2 separate regions of the Homo sapiens genome follow, and region 1 is linked to region 2. Evidence: promoter capture Hi-C in human tissues and cell types (Jung and others, 2019). All regions are on one chromosome and are shown on one strand. Each heading gives the region's core, a stretch centred on a gene start or on the middle of the fragment in contact. The rest is flanking DNA. Distances are from core to core; before and after follow the strand shown.

Region 1 (7,098 bases), core at 905-3,404, 76 kb before region 2:
AACAAATTTTAAAAGGGAGACGATAAATTCATGTAAAGATACTGAATAACCAGATAGAACTTATTTCTCTTGAGACAGAGTCTCGCTCTGTCGACCAGGCTGGAGTGCAGTGGCGCGATCTTGGCTCACTGCAACTTCTGCCTCCTGGGTTCAAGCAATTCTCCTAACTGAGCTCCCCAAGTAGCTGGGACTACAGGCACACACCATCACCAGGCCCAGCTAATTTTTGTATTTTTAATACAGACAGGGTTTCACCATGTTGGCCAGGCCGGACTCTAACTCCTGACCTCAGGTGATCCACCCGCCTCAGCCTCTCAAACTGCTAGGATTACAGGCATGTGCGACCGTGCCTAGTCCAGACAGGACTATTTCTTGTGACACACAATACATCTTGAAATGATGATACTGTGCAAAATGTATTATCTACCACAGTAGACTATTCTTTCTTGGGAATAGAAACCATATATCTCATTCATCCCAACCTCCACAGTGTCTTGCAGAGTGCCACCATGACTAGACATGAACATCAGCTTTCCCACCTACTTACCAGCCTATAAAAGAAAATAAAAAACAGCCCTCCTGAAAGCCATGAAAAAATGGAACTCCATTCCATACCACAGTCAGTAATCCTTTCCAAGCCAGGGCTAAATTCTACAAGGCCTAAGAACCTTCCATCATATAGTATTTTACTATGGTTCATTGTCCTGTTGTATTAAAAACTCCTCTATGAGGCCAGGCACGGTGGCTCATGCCTGTAATCCCAGCAGTTTGGGAGGCTGAGGCGGGCAGATCATTTGAGGTTAGGAGTTCAAGATCAGCCTGGCCAACAGGGTGAAACCCTGTCTCTACTAAAAATACAAAAAAATTAGCCAGGTGTGGTGGCACACACCTGTAATCCCTGCTACTCGGGAGGCTAAGGCAGGAGAATCACTTGAACCGTGGGGCAGAGGTTGCAGTGAGCCAAGATTGTTGTGCCACTGCACTCCAGCCTGAGCGAAAAAGTGAGACTCTGCCTCACAGAGGGATAACTAAAATTAGTGTCAATAATTAAAAAGTGAATGACTAATAACAGTGTAACAAATCTTTTGGCAAGTCAGGTGGACGCAAGTCCTCTTTCAACAAAATTGAAGACAGACCTAATTCAGTTGTTAGCTGATAGGATAAAAACATTTTGATGCTAAAGAACTATGTAATTTAACATATAATTTAGAAACAGCTAAGAGAATTGAATAATAATTGCTGTAATAAAACTCTGTTTCTATTTACTCACTCATGAGACCAAGGGTTCTTGGCATTTATATGTTTAAAAAAATAAAACTACAATAGAATTGATGCTGACAAGCTATCTTTTTCTAGCAGTAAATAATATGCATCCAGAGATTAACGATTTAATGAGAACCAATATATCTCAAAAGAGCTGCATTTCCAATGATTTTTATATTTTCCTATTTTTTAGTCTGTTTTTTTTTTTTTTTTTTTTTTTGAGATGAAGTCGCTCTGTCACCCAGGCTGGATGGAGTGCAGTGGCACAATCTCAGCTTGCTGCAACCTCCGCCTCCCAGGTTCAAGCGATTCTCCTGCCTCAGCCTTCTGAGTAGCTGGGATTACAGACCCATGCCAACATGCCTTCTAATTTTTGTATTTTTTTTGTAGAGACAGAGTTTCACCATGTTGGCCCAGCTGGTCTCGAACTCATGACCTTGTGATCCGCCTGCCTCGGCCTCCCAAAATGCTGGGATTACAGGTGTCAGCCACCGTGCCTGGCCTTATTTTCATAGTAATATGTAAAATATCCATAATGTGATCAACTGTGTATTTATAATAAATTTTAATAATATCTCCGTAAAGAAAACATTTATATGCATATTTTAAGAGTTCCAAGCACAAGATGTTACTTTAGGCCAGTAGTTTTTAAAGTATGGTCTCTGAACAGTAACATCTCCGCCAACTGGTAACTTGCTAAAAACACAAACTCTGGATCCCAGTGCCCTAGTGAGTCAGCGTCTCTGAGGGGGGAAGCCAGTAATCCTTGTTTTAACGAACCCTATTAGGTAATTCAAATGCACACGCAAGCCCATTGTGGTGGCTCACGCCTGTAATCCCAGCACTCTGGGAGGCCGAGGCAGGCGGATCATCTGAGGTCAGGAGTTCGAGACCAGCCTGGCCAACATGGTGAGACCCCGTCTCTACTAGAAATACAAAAATTAGCAGGGCGTGGTGGCACACACCTGTAGCCCCAGCTACTAGGGAGGCTAAGGCACAAGAGTCGCTTGAACCCAGGAGGCGGAGGTTGCAGTGAGCCAAGATCACACCACTGCACTTCAGCCTGGACAACACAGCGAGACTCGGTCTCAAAAAAAAAAAAAAATGAATGAAACAAATGCACACTCAAGTTTCAAAACCATTTTTAAGAAAAAAATTCTAAAGGAGATGTAAAGAAGAAAACCCAACGCAAGGAGGAAAACCACTGTAAAATTTCGGCTATAAAGCTATTCATGTGTTTGTTAAACAGATAACAATGGATAAATCACTGATATTTTCATTCCACTGGATATGTTTAAAAGCAGGAAGTTGGCCAGGCGTGGTGGCTCACCCAGCACTTTGGGAGGCCGAAGCGGGCGGATCACAAGGTCAGGAGTTTGAGACCAGCCTGACCAACATGGTGAAACCCCGTCTCTACTAAAAATACAAAAATTAGCCGGGCATGGTGGCACACACCTGTAATCCCAGCTACTCGGGAGGCTGGGGCAGGGCAGGAGAATCACTTGAATATGGGAGGCGGAGGTTGTAGTGAGCTGAGATAGTGCCACTGAACTCCAGCCTGCGTGACAGGGGAAGATGTCGGGGGAGACTCCCATCTCAAAAAAAAAAAAAAAAAAGGACGAAGCTTTCATTTAAATTGTAAATATCAACAATATAAAATTTTATCCTTCACATCTTTTCAAGCAAAAAATTTTAAACATCAACTTTAACATGTATGAAGGTTGTATGTAAGTATATATTTTACAGAGTTCATAAGTTAAAAAAGGTGCATGATCACTAGTCCAGAACAGGATTTTTCAAACTGTAGTACTTGAACTAGCAGTAACTGGAATCATCTATGAGCTTATTAGAAATGCAAATTTCTGGGCTCCACCCAAACATACTGTGGTTTAACAAGCTCTCCAGGTGATTTTTATCCACATTTGAATTTGAGAGCCACTATTCTATTATAGACTAGAGCAGTTTTCAAAATTTAGTGTGCAGCTGGACCCAAATCCCACAGTTTCTAACTCAGTAAATCTGGGTGGGACCCAAACATTTGCATTTCTAACAACTTTCCCAGGTGATGATGACGATAATGATGCTGTTCCACAATCACACTTTGAGAATCACTGGTCTAGAGAGCTGTGGAAACTACATTCACATTATTCTAGGTCGATACTCAGAAGGTAAGCCCCTTCCCTGATCCTTCAAATCAGGTCCCCCAACATGTTCTCTCATGTATTTTCCTTATACAGTTTCTTTTTCTTTTTTTTTTTTTTTTGAGATGGGAGTTTCACTCTTGTCGCCCACGCTGGAGTGCAATGGCGCAATCTCAGCTCACCTCAACGTCTGCCTCCTGGGTTCAAGCAATTCTTCTGCCTCAGCCTCCCGAGCAGCTGGGATTACAGGCATGCGCCACCATGCCCAGCTAATTTTGTATTTTTAGTACAGACAGGGTTTCTCCATGTTGGCCAGGCTGGACTTGAACTCCCGACCTCAGGTGATCCGCCCCCGCCCGTTGGCCTCCCAAAGTGCTGGGATTACAGGTGTGAGCCACCGCGCCCAGCCTGCAATTTCCTGTTTTAACGACTCATCACACAATTACTTAACATCTGTTTTGCTCATTGAGTTCAACCAAGTTAAAGAACCACATGAATTTTCCTCTTTCTGTATACCCAACACAAGTATAATGTCTGCCTCATAGTAGATATTAAATAAATATTTATTGATAAATAACTGAATATTTGTTGGGTAAAACTGATGTTTCATGGAATTAAAGATAACATAGCTAAAGCTGTTATTAGAATGCCAACAATCCTAGTTTGCCCACAACTGTATCCCAAATGTTAAGAGCAATAACATTCTCTTATCTCAAGGCTATGCAACCTAAATATGAACAGTAAGATCAAAAAACAAGGCAAAATCTGAAGAAGGCATTTTTCAACTTGTTTTTCAATCCCATTCTTAACCTAGCCTTTAAACAGTATTCTTTTATTATGCAAGTACAAATAAAATCAAGGTTTATTCAATGATAAAATTAACACTACTACCAAGAAACTCAACACTTTAAGGCAGTTTTCGCATTGAAGTTGGTGCGAGACTTATGAACTTACCCTCTTTAGCCAAATATAACTCCTTAAATTTTGCTCTCTTTTGATTAAATTCTTGTTCAAGCTGCTGTTGTGCACGTAAAAATTCTGCATTAATTTTTTCCAATTCTGCTACCCGTTGCTGAAGAGAAACTGGGGGAAAAAAACACTAGTTAACAAGTAATAACTTTTATTCATAAATTTATAAAACAGTAAATTAGTATTCTAGCTGTACATTGCTATACGTGAAACAAGTAGTCAAGCTTCTTCCAAAAATCCACCATATGCTAGGATATTCTAATGTTTAAAAAAAGTAAGACAGACCAGGCATGGTGGCTCACGCCTGTAATCCCAGCACTTTGGGAGGCCGAGGCGGGCGGATCACCCGAGGTCAGGAGTTCGAGACCAGCCTGGCCGACATGGAGAAATCCCATCTCTATTAAAAATACAAAAATTAGCCAGGTGTAGTGGCAGGTGCCTGTAATCCCAGCTACTCAGGAGGCTGAGGCAGGAGAATCGCTTGAACCCGGGAGGCGGAGGTTGCAGTGGGCCGAGATCGCACCACTGCACTCTAGCCTGGGTGACAGAGTGAGACTCTGTCTCAAAAAAAAAAAAAAAGATCCTTGTATTAGACTTAATACACAACTGTAAATGAGTCATGTAAAGTGAAACCACAAATATACAGAGAATCACATAAGGCCAACTTCCCCACAAAAAAAAGAGCTTCTAAAGTGCCTTTGTGCAACTGAATAGCAATTTAATTTTAGAACTGTTAAATATTGGATTATTTGAACTACTTATCCCACAAATGAACCTACTGCCAATCTTGCTATTTCCCATTTCTCTCAAGTGTCACAAGCAAAATCTAATAGGTTCCCTAACTAGTGTAGCCATACCAGACTGAACTATTCTTCCAACTTCAAAATGATCCATTACCATTATACTGAGATCATAATCAAAAACCCATTCATAGAGAGGATACAGAACTGCACATTCTATATAAACTCTCAATTACTGGGAGATAATCTGGTTTTCTTCCATGTTTTCAACATTGATCATGGTGTGCGGAGATTAGCAGACTTTTTACTTTATGGACTCTATAATTTGGACACAGCTGGTTAAATGATTGCCTTCCCTGACCAAACCCAGGGGTTCCTTTGATTGAAGCATAAGATAGGAGGTCCAGCTGTGCAAACCCCTGATCTCCCCTTTTGCCCCAACAGCATCCCAGCCTTAAAGCTATGACCATAATCCCTTTAGGGGATATCGGTTAGTACTAATCAACCACTAACTACTTAGGCCAGCAGAGGGCCAAGTTTCCTACTGCAAGTCACTCCAGATAATGATGATTTGCCTAGAATTTTAATCAAGATCTGAGATTATCTTTGAAGGCTATCCCCTCTCCCAATCACTCAATTTAATTGAGAGCTGATTTTAAAATGTATAGAAAAAAAGACTGGAAAAAATGTACCAATGATTTATCTATGAGTAACAGAATTATGGCTCATTAATTTCTTCCATATGCTTTTGAGACGGAGTCTCCCTCTGTTGCCCAGGCTACAGTGCAGTGGGGCGATCTCGGCTCACCGCAAATTCTGCCTCCCAGGTTCAAGCAATTCTCCTGCCTCAGCCTCCCAGTTAGCTGGGACTACAGGCATGTGCCACCACGCCTGGCTAATTTTTGTATTTTTAGTAGAGACGGGGTTTCACATGTTGGTCAGGCTGGTCTCTAACTCTTGACCTCAAATGATCCACCCACCTCGGCCTCCCAAAGTGCTGGGATTACAGGCATAAGCCACCGCACCTGGCCTTCCATAAGCTTCTCAAAGTTCTCTTCTATGCAGATATGTATTCCTTTGACAATGAACTAAAACCAACACAGATGGTTCAAACTGATGGTTTCACTTACAATTTTTCCACTTTATTATGGTACTCATACAACCATTCTCTTTTTTACTTTCAACTTTCACTAGAGGATTCAATAAATTACATGAGATATACAACATTTTACTATAACTTGATAAATGTTAGCTGTTAGCTGTCATTATTAAATTGGTGGTATTTATTTAATGAGTAACAAAAAAAAGTAGCAATCAAATGACCTTGTATATAGCCAGAAAAGACCAGAAGTCACTTCCAACCTCATGATTCTGACTCAGTTCCATGCTTAGACTTCCAGCTTATACCCTCCTCTATTATCATGTATCTTTTTTTTTTTTCAGACAGAGTCTCACTCTGTCACCCAGGCTGGAGTGCAGTGGTGCAATCTTGGCTCATTGCAACCTCCGCCTCCCGGACTCAAGCAATTCTTCTGCCTCAGCCTCCCGAGTAGCTGGGAGTACAGGCACATGCCACCACGCCCAGCTAATATTTGTATTTTTAGTAGAGACAGGGTTTCACCATGTTGCCCAGGCTGGTCTTGACCTCCTGACCTCAGGTGATCCACCCACCTCGGCCTCCCAAAGTGCTGCGATCACAGGCATGAGCCACCGTGCCCGGCCTACCATGTATCTTTATAGCATCGTGAACAAACTAATTACCATAATGCCAGCCTTCAACAATATTAAACCTTCTGAAATTTACAAGGCTGAGAATGTAAGTATGCCAGCCTTTGTCAACAATAGGCTTTCTGTTAGAAGATTTTGCCCAGCTGCAGGCTAATATAAGCATTCTGGGTACATTTAAGGTAGCTAGGCTAAGCTATGATGTTCCGTAACTTAGGTATATTAAATGCATTTTATGTTATTTCCAATTTATAATGGGA
Region 2 (6,527 bases), core at 2,551-5,050:
GCTGCCTCCTGCCACAACCCCAAATACTTATACACTTGCCTTTTTACATCTGAGCTGGAACGACCCCACCTCAATGTCATGGGGCCAGGGTGGGAGACAGAGGAGCTACAACATCTGCTTGGCTATTGTTAGGGACAAACAAAGCAGCCACGGTTGCTTAGTGATGACTTCTGGTTCCACCTGAGTGCTTTGGCCACCCATATTGCTCTCAGAGCTCTTTAAAGATGAGTTATTGTGCCCGGAGTGGTGGCTGATGCCTGTAATCCCAGGACTTTGGGAGGCTGAAGTGGACAGATCACCTGATGTTAGGAGTTCAAGACCAGCCACCTAACCAACATGGAGAAACCCCATCTCTACTAAAAGTACGAAATTAGCAGGGCATGGTGGCGCATGCCTGTAATCCCAGCTACTCTGGAGGCTGAGGCAGGAGAATTGCTTGAACCCAGGAGGTGGAGGTTGCAGTGAGCCAAGATCGCGCCATTGCACTCCAGTCTGGGCAATAAGGGCGAAACTCTGTCTCAAAAACAAAAACAAAAACAAACAAAAACCCCCACCTTTTTAAAAACTGCAATAAAATCTATTAATGTTCTAATTATATGTTGTATCTTATGATTTCTCTTTCTTCAGTTTTTTTCTCATGATGGGGATTAATTGACACTTGTGAGTGGCACAAAGAATAACACCTCATTTTACACATGACTTAGATGACTGAGTGAGAAGAAACAAAACGGCAGAAGCTGGGTGCCACCCGGATGTTGACAAAAAGGTTGAGTCATGAGATGAAGGGTGGACTGGAATCCCTTCTGAGTGTCCTCTAGCCTGATGGTCTCTGTAGCTTTAAGAGGTGAACATCTTGTGTGTCCAGCCATCCCTACGGGGAGGTCAGAGGGACCAGAATCCTGAGGAGAAAGCACCACAGGTGACCACTAGAGGGTGCCCTTCATTCTCCTTGACACCCTCTGGTCCAGCCGCTAATCTAGGGCCCTCAGGGACCTCTTTAGTTGCCCAGACCAGCAGGTGGCATTTCAGATGTGCAGAAAGAACACAACCGCCCCAACTTCCTGCCCTCCTCTTGTGGTGGAAAGACAAATGGTGGAGTCGGGGAAGAATGTAGATAGCAAGGAAGTGGGTAGATCCAGATGCCGTGGTGTGTGTCCCTAAACTTTGCTCTCAAGCCTCTGACTGCCCAACACATTCACTCTTGATCAGCCATGCAACCATCTCTTTCTCTCCAAATACTATGGCTGCTTTGTGTCTGTCCACATTCTGTCCATTTGGTGAGCTCCTACACATCCTTCAAGGCCCAGTTCAAATGCTACCACTCAGACCCTTTCTTCTCTCCCACTTTTGTGCTTCCACAGCACTAGCATTCATCACTTTGCATAGTAATAACTTATGTGCCTTCTGTCCTGTAGAACATGTGCCATGTGCTCTACCCATGAATGACTTGCCCAGTTCTGAGTCTCTACTTGTTGAGCACAGGGTCTGGCACAAATTGAAGGTCATTGTATTTAGCCTGCATCATATTATGGCTTCAACTTCCTCCTACACTTTGCGGGACTTTCTTGAAGGCAGATGGCAAAATCCCTGGAGCACTTTCATATTTGTCAATTGAATTCTTTCATTTTACAACAAGGAAACTGAGGCTCAGAGAAGGGAAGGATTCACAAAGAAAGTTTTGTCAAACCGGGCCTGGAATTCTGATCACCTGACACCTCAGGCTTGAACTTGCTGTGCAAAAGGCATTGTTAGAAATAGTAGGGCTACAGAGTTTACTATATCACAGCTGAACTGAGGTCCTTAAAGGTTAGCAAAATAATTTATTGAGTAATTTATTGAATGAATGAATGAAACACAAACCAAGAAGTCACAGCTTTGTTAGCCTAGGATGAGCTCTATCCACAGAAGCATTTATTCACCCCTCAGAAGAGAATTTTTTTTTTTTTTTTTTTTGAGACGGAGTGTTGCTCTGTCACCCCGGCTGGAGTGCAGTGGCTCGATCTCGGCTCACTGCAACCTCCGCCTCCCAGGTTCAAGCGATTCTTCTGCCTCAGCCTCCCAAGTAGCTGGGACTACAGGCACCTGCCACCATGCCTGGCTAATTTTTGTATTTTTAGTAGAGACGGGATTTCACCATGTTGGCCAGGCTGGTCTCAAACGCCTGACCTCATGATCCGCCTGCCTTGGCCTCCCAAAGTGCTGGGATTTCAGGCGTGAGCCACTGTGCCCGGCCTAGAAGAAAATTTTAAATTGGCTTTTAGGAAGGTTTTTTAGCAGCTAAACTTTGGATGAGCCTAAGAAGAAAGAGTTCAGGCCTTGGCCAGGTGCAGTGGCTCAACTCTGTAATCCCAGCACTTTGGGAGGCCGAGGCAGGTGGATCACTTGAGGTCAGGAGTTCGAGACCAGCCTGGCCAACATGGTGAAACCCTGTCTCTACTAAAAATACAAAGATTAGCCGGATGCGGTGGCACACACCTGTAGTCCCAGCTACTTGGGAGGCTGAGGCAGGAGAATTGCTTGAACCTGGGAGTCGGAGGTTGCAGTGTGCTGAGATTGAGCCACTGCACTCCAGCCTGGCGACAGAGTGAGACTGCATCTCAAAAAAAAAAAAAAAAAAGAAAGAAAGAAAGAAAAAGAAAAAAGAAATTAGTAAACACTGCAAATCAGGAATCTTCTGAGCCAGATGTTTTGTTTTGTTTGTTTGAGATAGAGTCTTGCTCTGTTGCCCAGGCTGGAGCGCAATGGTGTGATCTTGGCTCACTGCAACCTCCACCTCGCGGGTCCAAGCAATTCTCCCGCCTCAGCCTCCTGAGTAGCTGGGACTACCGGTTCACACCAAAATGCCCAGCTAATTTTTGTATTTTTAGTAGAGATGGGGTTTCACCATGTTGGCCAGGCTGGTCTCGAACTACTGACTTCAGGTGATCCACCCGCCTTGGCCTCCCAAAGTGCTGGGATTACAGGTGTGAGCCACCGCACCCAGCCAGAGCCCGGTGTTTGTTAAATTTACCAGACATATATCAGACATTATCAGATATTTATCAGACATATCTGGTTATCATTATTACTGAAATGGATAACAACTCATTCGCTCTGGGCAAATACAATGCACATCCGTTTGCCTATTTTTACTAATGTGACTGCTCATTTGAGTCAGAACCAGCCAATTCAACAAAATGGCTAATTGGTTTCCCCACTCCAACCCCCATGGTCAGAGGCCGTGGGCCTCGCTGGGAGTTCTGTCTCACAGTATTGCACGAGGGGACCCAACTCAGTCAAAATGCTCCACTGGCCACATTTCTCAAGGTCGCCACTCACACGCCTTTAGAAACAGGAAGCCTGTCCCTTGCCTCCTCCAAGCAGAAGATGTCTCAGCAGTTCCAAGGTGCACAGGAGCTTTCAAGAGTCACCTTCATGGTGAGATGGTGAGTTTGTCACACATGAGCTGGTTTCTTACCTGGATCTGTCTCTGCATGGGAGCTGGCGTCCTGTCGCTCTTCTTGAGACTGAGGTTGCCACATCCAGGAATGCTCACGGCAAACTCGTCTGTGGGGACACCAAACCCACCCCCACTGCCAAGTCTCCACCCTGGCCCCTGGCCCCTGCCAGGACCCCCTACCACACCATGAGGGTCCTCTGGTAGGCCTTGCGGGAGCGACACGGGGCAGTGAGAAGATTCTGGCTTCTGGACAGCCGTGGGTCATGAGCTTCCCTGGAAAAGGGATGGTTGCCTAGAGATGACGCCAGGGTCTCTGCCCCGTGGGCTGACTAGAAAGGGGAAGTGGTCAGGATGGGGCTCACTGTCTCTAGCAGTGGGTGAAGGCCTGTGAGTGAGGAATGCCTCTCACCAGCTGTGCCTGAGCTGCAGCACTCCAGCCACTGCTGTCTCCTTAGCTGCTCACATATGGATACTTTCACAGTTCAGGTAAGCATCTCAGCTTTCCAAGGGACAGTTTCCTGCTCTCTTCACAGCAGACATCTGCCAGCGCTGGCATCAGGGCGTGTCCCTGGGAGCCACCGATCAGCACTGGGCCAGGGGATTGCAGCCTGGGGCCCTGGTACGACTGCTGTGTAGGGTTGGAGAAAAACTTGCATTGAAGGATCTGCTCTACTGGTAACTGGCTGAGTGACCTGAGGCATCACTTCACCTCTCTGGGCCTTTTCCTCATGTGTATGTCAGGGGCGATGAAGAAGTCTACCTCTTGGATTGAAATGAGATAATGACCGGGAGTGAGAGGTCTCAACTGTAACGAGTTACTCTCACTTTCTGGATGCCGATGGTGTGTTTTGGGACTTGTTATGTGAGAAGACTGTCATGGTGCTATGCTGGAGGTGGGGGTGGGAGCGAGGCACTGACTGTGTCAATTTATTTATTTTTATTTTATTTTGAGATGGAGTTTCGCTCTTGTCGCCCAGGCTGGAGTGCAGTGACGTGATCTCGGCTCACTGCAACCACCGCCTCCCGGGTTCAAGCGATTCTCCTGCCTCAGCCTCCTGAGTAGCTGGGATTACAGGCACCCGCCACCACACCTGGCTAATTTCTGTATTTTTAGTAGAGACGGAGTTTCACCATGTTGGCCAGGCTGCTCTCGAACTCCTGACCTCAGGTGATCCGCCCGCCTCGGCCTCCCAAAGTGCTGGGATTACCGTAGCATGAATTTAGGCTACGTCTTGGGGCTCTTGGATGAAAGACCTGGATCACCTCCAGTCTTGGTACCTTTGTCATTGCATCTCTGGCTTTCAGTAGTTCATTAGGCACCTTCCCTTCCAGAGGCCTCGAGATCAAAGTGTGTTGGGCTGGCGTGAGTTCTCGGTGTAGCCATCTGCTTTTGCCCTCTGGAAAATTATTTTGAGAAGAGATCTGGGTTTGGCTTTGCCATATCCACTCCCACTGCCTGGTGTGTCCACTTGTCCCTGAGGTCTTGGCCATGAAGCAATGTGGAGCACAGGCTTCACTCTGCTTCAGTGGTAAATAACTACTGAGAGGCAGGCGGGGCATGGTGGCTCACGCCTCTAATCCCAGCACTTTGGGAGGCCAAGGTGGGCAGATCACAAGGTCAAGAGATCAAGACCAGCCTGGCCAACATGGTGAAACCCTGTCTCTACTACAAATACAAAAATTAGCTGGGCATGGTGGTGGGCGCCTATAGCCCCAGCTACTCGGGAAGCTGAGGCAGGAGAATCGTTTGAGCCCGGGAGGTGGAGGTTGCAGTGAGCCAAGATTATGTCACTGCACTCCAGCCTGGTGACAGAGCAAGACTCCATCTCAAAAACAAACAAACAAACTACTGAGAGGCTTAAAGCAAGGAAGGGACAGGGTCACACTGGTATTTGGCAGCCAGTGGGGAGCCCAGTGGGGGCTAGGGGCCAGCGAAAATGCAATGGTCCAGGTACAGAGATGAGGACTTGGACTACATTTGGAGGCTGATGGGCTGAAGCGGGGTGGGGATGGGGCCATGGGAGAAAGAGGAATGAGGCAAGGTTTCCGGTCTTTTCCAGAAGTGAAAGTATAGAGAAGGGAAGAAGAGAGGCTGGACTCCTTTTAATGACCCTGCCGTGCACTTCCCCATGCACACTTGGGTTTTAAGTTGCCAGTGACTATCCACATGGCCATTTCTGGTGCTGACATCAGTGAGAAGGACAAGTGGAGCGAGGCTCAGTGGCTCACGCCTGTAATCCCAGCACTTTGGGAGGCCGAGGCAGGTGGATCACTTGAGGTCAGGAGTTTGAGACCAGCCAGGCCAACATGGCAAAACCCCATCTCTACTAAAAATACACAAAAATTAGCCGGGTATGGTGGTGCGTGTCGGTAATCCCAGCTACTCAGGAGGCTGACACAGGAGAATAGCTTGAACCAGGAAGTAGAGGTTGCAGTGAGCTGAGATTGCACCAGTGGAGTCTAGCCTGGGTGACAGAGCAAGACGCCATCTCAAAAAAAAAAAAAGAAGAAGAACGAGTGGGAACAAGGCCTCACTTAGCATGAACAGCAACAGTCGGGGAATTAGAGGTGAACTGGGGCAAGAACTGCTCATGCCAACCGGCCTAAATGTTCTCTACAGCCTCTCAGACCCTCGAGATCTAGACTGAGATTAGTTCGAACCCTCATTCCAGGCCTGCCGAAGTCCAAAGCCCTCCCCAGGACTTCTGTGGACTCCCGAGGAGCCCACCTCTTTTTCCATGGTCAGCAATGGGCCTGCAGCCTCTGTGGGTAAAACTGTTTACACTGCGCTGTTTACACTGCACTGTTTGCACTGTTTATACTGTTTATACTGCACTGTTTATACTGCACTGTTTACACTGCACTGTTTATATTCCACCCCTTTCTTAGTCCCCCACACCCCTAGAACAAATCTGCTCACAAAAGAATTGGCAGATGCAGCAGACTTTACCAAAGACTCAGCGGGGGACCACCAGAGGGGCTTGTAACGCATCAGCGCAAACAACTGCACACAGAACATAACACGGCGCTGCTCTGAAAATGTCTTTGCCAGCCCATCCCTGAGCATTTTCTATCAGCTCCTCCTCTT

The links. The method cuts DNA at HindIII sites, captures the fragments that hold promoters and counts their contacts. A contact is called where the count stands out against the background at its distance.
Region 1: a fragment that was not itself captured here is called in contact with the fragment with the promoter of SCIMP in region 2 in 8 of the 25 tissues and cell types used here (H1 embryonic stem cells, IMR-90 fibroblasts, adrenal gland and 5 more).

Annotation. Positions count from the first base shown.
Region 1 is chr17:5,306,083-5,313,180 of GRCh38, reverse strand. RABEP1 (rabaptin, RAB GTPase binding effector protein 1) reads right to left here. Exons shown (of 18, transcript NM_004703.6): 2 at 4,359-4,487. Among named protein-coding and RNA genes, the nearest start is that of RABEP1, 27 kb to the right of the region's middle. The HindIII fragment of the contact is 6,443 bases long and covers 1-5,375 here.
Region 2 is chr17:5,232,133-5,238,659 of GRCh38, reverse strand. SCIMP (SLP adaptor and CSK interacting membrane protein) reads left to right here and starts at 3,800. Exons shown (of 5, transcript NM_207103.3): 1 at 3,800-3,925. The coding sequence starts at 3,905. ZNF594-DT (ZNF594 divergent transcript) reads right to left here. Exons shown (of 6, transcript NR_152840.1): 6 at 2,657-3,546. RefSeq lists enhancers at 1,114-1,413, 3,359-3,558. The HindIII fragment of the contact is 19,973 bases long and covers 1-6,527 here.